Regions from separate parts of the Homo sapiens genome. Here region 2 is linked to region 1. Evidence: promoter capture Hi-C in 16 types of primary human blood cells and fetal thymus (Javierre and others, 2016). All regions are on one chromosome and are shown on one strand. The core of a region is centred on a gene start or on the middle of the fragment in contact, and the rest is flanking DNA. Distances in the headings are between cores, read along the strand shown. Region 1 holds the start of AMIGO3 (adhesion molecule with Ig like domain 3). Region 2 holds the start of RBM5-AS1 (RBM5 antisense RNA 1).

Evidence for each region. The method cuts DNA at HindIII sites, captures the fragments that hold promoters and counts their contacts. A CHiCAGO score of 5 or more calls a contact.
Region 2: a fragment that was not itself captured here is called in contact with the fragment with the promoter of AMIGO3 in region 1 in 1 of 17 cell types (endothelial precursors); the score reaches 5.9 in endothelial precursors.

What each region holds. Positions count from the first base shown.
Region 1 is chr3:49,718,238-49,721,154 of GRCh38, forward strand. AMIGO3 (adhesion molecule with Ig like domain 3) reads right to left here and starts at 1,447. Exons shown (of 1, transcript NM_198722.3): 1 at 1-1,447. The coding sequence starts at 1,228. It overlaps RNF123 (ring finger protein 123), which reads left to right. Exons shown (of 39, transcript NM_022064.5): 36 at 2,274-2,416; 37 at 2,563-2,657; 38 at 2,783-2,868. GMPPB (GDP-mannose pyrophosphorylase B) reads right to left here. Exons shown (of 9, transcript NM_021971.4): 9 at 1,679-2,917. RefSeq lists enhancers at 413-1,220, 702-811, 1,582-1,811 and a silencer at 2,806-2,917. The HindIII fragment of the contact is 8,800 bases long and covers 1-2,917 here.
Region 2 is chr3:50,098,862-50,101,778 of GRCh38, forward strand. RBM5 (RNA binding motif protein 5) reads left to right here. Exons shown (of 25, transcript NM_005778.4): 5 at 1,121-1,190; 6 at 1,671-1,744. It overlaps RBM5-AS1 (RBM5 antisense RNA 1), which reads right to left and starts at 2,127. Exons shown (of 1, transcript NR_045388.1): 1 at 742-2,127. RefSeq lists a silencer at 1,582-1,782. The HindIII fragment of the contact is 773 bases long and covers 1,086-1,858 here.

The sequences.
Region 1 (2,917 bases), core at 197-2,696:
AGCAGCGGCAGGGTGGGGCGAACAGGTAGAGCAGCACGAGCACAAGGCCCACGGCACAGCCCAGCAGTGTGGTGAAGCCTGTGTTGAAAGCCTCGGGCTCTGGGCGCGGAAAGTGCACGCTCACGTTGTACTCGTGCGTCTGGTTGTGGTGCAGGCGGGGCCCAGTGGCCAGGCACACGAAGAGTCCCGCATGCTGCTCCTGTACGTTGCCTATGGCCAAGCTGCCGTCGGCCAGCACCGCGATGCTGCCATCGCGGGATCCTGGCGCCCTGAGAAGCTCCTGCTGCGGCGAAACCCAGGCAATGCGCATGGCCGGGACGCTGGTGTTGCAGTAAAGCCTCAGGGACCGACCCACCAGCGCGTACAGGTGCTCTTCCGGCCGCTCTAGGCCAAGAGCTGGGGCCGACGAGCAGTTCTCAAAGACGCGGCTGTGCTGGAAGAAGCGCACGCGGGACGCGGGTACCTTGAAGGCCAAGCATACGTACTCGCGCGCAAAGTCGCGCACGGCGCTCAGGCCCCGCTGGTGCCAGCGCTGTAGCAGGTGGTAGAGGCGGCAGTCGCAAGGCAAAGGGTTGTTGTGCAAGTAGAGGCCGTTCTTGAGGAAGGCCGGCAGCGCGGCCAGCTCAGGTACGGAGATGTGTCCCAGCCGGTTGGAGGAGAGGTCCAGAGTAAGCAGGTGGGTGGCGCTCAGACCGTGCAGGTGGTCGAAGGAGAACGAGGCGAGTTCGTTGCAGCCCAGGTAGAGATGGCTGAGCGCGCGCAGGCCGTGGAAGGCATGCTCGTCCAAGTGCACCAAGCGGTTATTGAACAGAAGCAGCTTCTCCAGCGCCCCCAGCCCGTCGAGGTCGTGGCGGCCAAGCGCCCGCAACGTGTTAGATGATAGATCGAGCAGCCTCAGGCCGCTGGCGTTGACGAAGACGCCGCGACCCAGCGCATCTAGTTCGTTGTGGTCTAGGTGCAGGGCGCGCAGCTGGAAGAGGGGCGCCAACCAGCCGGGGCGCAGGCGCTGGAGCGCGTTGTGGCTCAGGTCGAGGTCCGCAGTAGCGGCAGGTAACTCGGCTGGCACGTCCTGCAGCCCTAGGCCAGTGCAGCTTAGCAGGTCGGCAGCGCAGATACATTTGTAGGGGCAGTTGTGGAGCGCACGGGGCGGGAAACCCTCGGAGTCCGGGGTGCCTAACCCAACGCGCAGCATGCAGAGCAGTGTCCCCAGCAGCACCAACCAGGTCATGGCGGCGACCACCAGGGACAGTACAGAGCAGCTCTGTGCAGGTTGCAGTTCCAGGACTCACCCTCTTCTGCTCTAGTGCGACATGGGTGGCACCGGATGGCCCTTGCCGAGGAGGCACGGCGGGTTCTTGCCAGCCGACGGCCCCTACTCTCCGGTTCCCAGGTTGTGAGGCGGTGCGGCACTCTTAGCCGCGCTCCCTTCGGCTTCGCTAGCCCTCTCCAAGCGAGTTCCTGATCGGCTCCTAAATACTCCCCCCAGGGGCGGGGCCCGGGCTCCTATTGGTTCCCGTTTGAGGAGGCGGGGCGGCTACATCCCTTTGTGCCCAATGGCCCCGCATGACCGCCAGATGGGGAGCAAGGCCAACCCCAAAGTCCCCGTCAGCCTTTGGCTGGCAGCTCTCCGCCGCTCGTTTTTCCTCGGGGAGTAAAAGGGGGAGTCTGGAAGAATGTCTCCAAGCTGCTGTTAGTGTTTATTTGAAGTGACTTTGAAGGACTGATAATATTATGGGGCAGGCAGACTCTCACTATCTTAAGGTGGTTCGCCTGAGCCTTCTTAAAGTGGTACCCCAGGCCGGGCGCGGTGGCTCACGCCTGTAATCCCAGCACTTTGGGAAGCCAAGGCAGGTGGATCACCTGAGGTCAGGAATTCGAGACCAGCCTGGCCAACCTGGTGAAACCCTGTCTCTACTAAAAATACAACAATTAGCCGGGCGTGGTGGTGGGCGTCTGCAATTCCAGCTACTCGGGAGGCTAAAGCAGGAGAATCACTTGAACCCGGGAGGTGGAGGTTGCAGTGAGCCGAGATCGTGCCATCGCACTCCAGCCTGGGCAACAGAGCGAGACTCGTCTCAAGAAAAAAAAAAAAAAAACAGGCTGTGTGGCACCTTACTAGAATACAGGACTTGGGGTTTGGGAAGCAGGGAGACGGAAAGGATGCAGGGGGGGTGATCATGTACGAGCCATGGCACTCCTCATTGGCAATCCCAAGAGAGACTTTTAGCCAGGCCCCAAGCCTTCTGACTGCCCTTGCACCCTCCCCTACCTAGGAGAGAGCAAGCCACATCAGTGCTCCTGGCAGATCCCTGCTTCCAGCTACGCTCAATATGCTATCTCCTGGGACAGCCAGAGCCCCCAGCACCTGGCACTGCTCTGCCAGCCCCTGACCGGAAGCGCTTCTCCCTGCAGAGCTGTGAGTGGGCTGGTGGGGCAGGTCAGGGAAATCTGGGGCTGGGTCGGGTCAGGAGCCTTAAGAACAGCAAAGTCCTAGGCTGGGAATATTCAAGAGGCATCACATCCTCAGCTACCTCTGACTTGACACTACCTACCACTCCCCAGATGCGGATTATATCAGTGCCGATGAGCTGGCCCAAGTGGAACAGATGCTGGCGCACCTGACCTCTGCATCTGCCCAGGCAGCAGCTGCCTCCCTGGTGAGTGGGAACACGGTGCACAGGTCCATGCCACTTGAATATGTGTGCACTCCTACACAGGCACAACGGACATCCACATAGCCAGGCATCCAACTCCAGCCCACCCTTCACTCTCCTCCCTGCAGCCCACCAGTGAGGAGGACCTCTGCCCCATCTGCTATGCCCACCCCATCTCTGCTGTGTTCCAGCCCTGTGGCCACAAGTCCTGCAAGTAAGTGGGCCCCACAGCTTGGTGGTGGGGAGAGCAGTAGGTACATGCA
Region 2 (2,917 bases), core at 222-2,721, 380 kb after region 1:
GAGCCACTGTACTATCCTGCAGAACAAAGGACAGGGAGATTAGACTAAAGGATGGAGGCTTGAGACATCATACCACAAGCAAGGATGTGTATCATAACAGAAATTAATTGCGGCCAGGCATTGTGGCTCACTCCTGTAATCCTAGCACTTTGGGAGGCCAAGGTGGCCGGATCGCTTGAGCCCAGGAGTTCCAGACCAGCCTGGGCAACGTGGCAAAACTCTGTCTCTACAAAAAATACAAAAATTAACCAGGTGTGGTGGTGTGCATTTGTAGTCCCAGCTACTTAGGAGGCTGAGGTGGGAGGATCACTTGAGTCCAGGAAGGCAGAGGTTGCAGTGAGCTGAGATCACACCAGTGCACTTCAGCCTGGGTGTCAGAGCTAGGCCCTGTCTCAAAAAAAAAAAAGGAAAAATTAATTACACCTGAGGGAAATTCCCATGCAACATTTAATGAATGCCTTCAGTGCTGTTATAATGCATTAATTTCTATGAGAAATGTTCTCTCTTTTTTGTGCCTTTTAGGAAAATTGCATTTTGGTGATAGAAGATAAAAACTTGGCTAATTAGGCCAGGCATGGTGGGTCATGCATGTAATGATATGGGAGGCTGGCATATCACTTGAGGCCAGGAGTTCGAGACTAGCCTGTCCAACACAGTGAAACCCCGTCTCTACTAAAAATACAAAAATTAGCTGGATGTGGTGGTGGATGCCTGTAATCCCAGCTACCTGGGAGGCTGAGGCAGAAGAATCGCTTGAATCCAGGAGGTGGAGGTTGAAGTGAGCCGAGATCACGTCACTGTACTCCAGCCTGGGTGACAGAGCGAGACTCCGTCTCAAAAAAAAAAAAAAATCAGTCACGCATGGTGGTGCACACCTATAATCCCAGCTACTCGGGAGGCTGAGGCAGGAGAATTGCTTGAACCCAGGAGGTGGTGGTTGCAGTGAGCTGAGATCATGCCACTGCACTCCAGCCTGGGCAATCAAGTGAGTGAGAGACAGAGACTCCCATCTTAAAAAAAAAAAAAACTTGGCTAATTAAACAGTTGATGTAATTCCTATTCCATGGGGAATAGTGTGTGGCAAAAGCTTTAACTGTAAATAATGTAAAACCCTGTGCAGATTCGAGAAATGATGGAGTCCTTCGAAGGCCCTCAGCCTGCGGATGTGAGGCTGATGAAGAGGAAAACAGGTGAGAGCTTGCTTAGTTCCTGATATTATTGTTCTCTTCCCCATTCCCACCTCAGTCCCTAAAGAACATCCTGATTCCCCCAGTCTTCAAGCACATGAATTCAGAATGAAAGGTTTGCCATGGCTAAGGAATGTGACTCTTTGAAAACCATGTTAGCATCTGAGGAACTTTTTTAAACTTTGTTTTAGGGACTTTTTTTTCCTTAGGTAAGTAATGATTTATAAACTCCTTTTTTTTTTTGACTATAGTCGGTTGCATGGTTACTTTAAGCGTGGAATCAAATGGAGTGGCATTTAGTTCAGGCGGCTTGTTCCTTGCCATGGCAAAGTATCAAGAAGATCCCCAAGTCAAGTCACATTTGTAAAGCTGCTTCCCAATTGGCTTTGTCACGCAGTGTTGAAGCAGTGGGAGAGAGATTCACCTGTTATAAAGGAACTGACTAACACAAGTATCCCGTCTATATCTGAATGCTGTCTCTAGGTGTAAGCCGTGGTTTCGCCTTCGTGGAGTTTTATCACTTGCAAGATGCTACCAGCTGGATGGAAGCCAATCAGGTTGCTTCACTCACCAAGTCTAGATATTCATGAAAATGGAACAAGTCTGTACAATTTTAAAAAAAGGTTGAAGGAGTGGTTTGTTCCAAAGGAGTGACTTTTTTTTAAAAAAAAAGCTTTGTATATATTAAAATTGATGTTACTAGAATAAGTACAGTACCAAGGACTTCATTATAGAATTTGTTCTGCCTTTAAACATGGCTACCTACCTGGCAGGGCTTTGTTAACTACTGAATACCTGTCTGGTAATCACTAAAACATCTTAATGTTTCCCTTTTTTCTAGTTTGTTATATTCCTATTATGTCCATTGAGAGTAAGCTTAGTATATCAAACTCTCCATTTGACAGTGAAGAGAACATAGTGAAAGTCTGTGGCGGCATTTTTATAAGTAATTCCTTATTTCTGCCTGAAGACCACAAAGCCTCCTGGAGGCGTAACTGCTCAGACCGGTCTTCAGGGAATATTTAAGGACTTAGTGGAATTTATGAACAATAAGTCTGATGAGATTAGCCTGGGAGTGGTGTCCTGCAGCTGTCTAATCTAGTTAGAGTGGCATTAACATTCTAATCTCCTTGAGAATGCCTTTTATAGTCTGTTCAAAGCAAGTCATTGATGGTTCTTCGAGGTAGTGTTAACTGAAGTGTTCTTCAGTTTGTCAAGATAATGTTCAGTGCTTGGCACTTAAATAACATTTTTTGCAAGAACTCCAAGGCACATTATTGAATGCCTTTAACCAAGTGCATTCTGGGAAGTTTGCTTGACTCATTATCTTGCTTTTCTGCAGCATTCTGTGATTTGAGTCATCCATGAATCCATGAATAAAAGTTACATTCTTTGATTGGTAATATTGCCATTTATAACAAGACTCACTAATGAGGGTATCACTTTGACTGACTGATTTGTTAAAGTTTTTAAGCCTCTCATTTTCCTAACCCAGAAATCACAGCCTGATTTTATTAAAAGTAGAGCTTCATTCATTTCATACCATAGATACCATCCTAGTAAATCCAGAACATATACAAGGTTCATGTGAGTCTGCTTTCTTGACATGATAGCATTGTTTGATGCAGTGGATATGTCAGAATGACTAACCTAGGAGTTTAAAACTCCTAAGAAACTAAAACCTGTAAGACATTTAAAAGTCTCCACAATTTTAATGTATACAAAGCTAT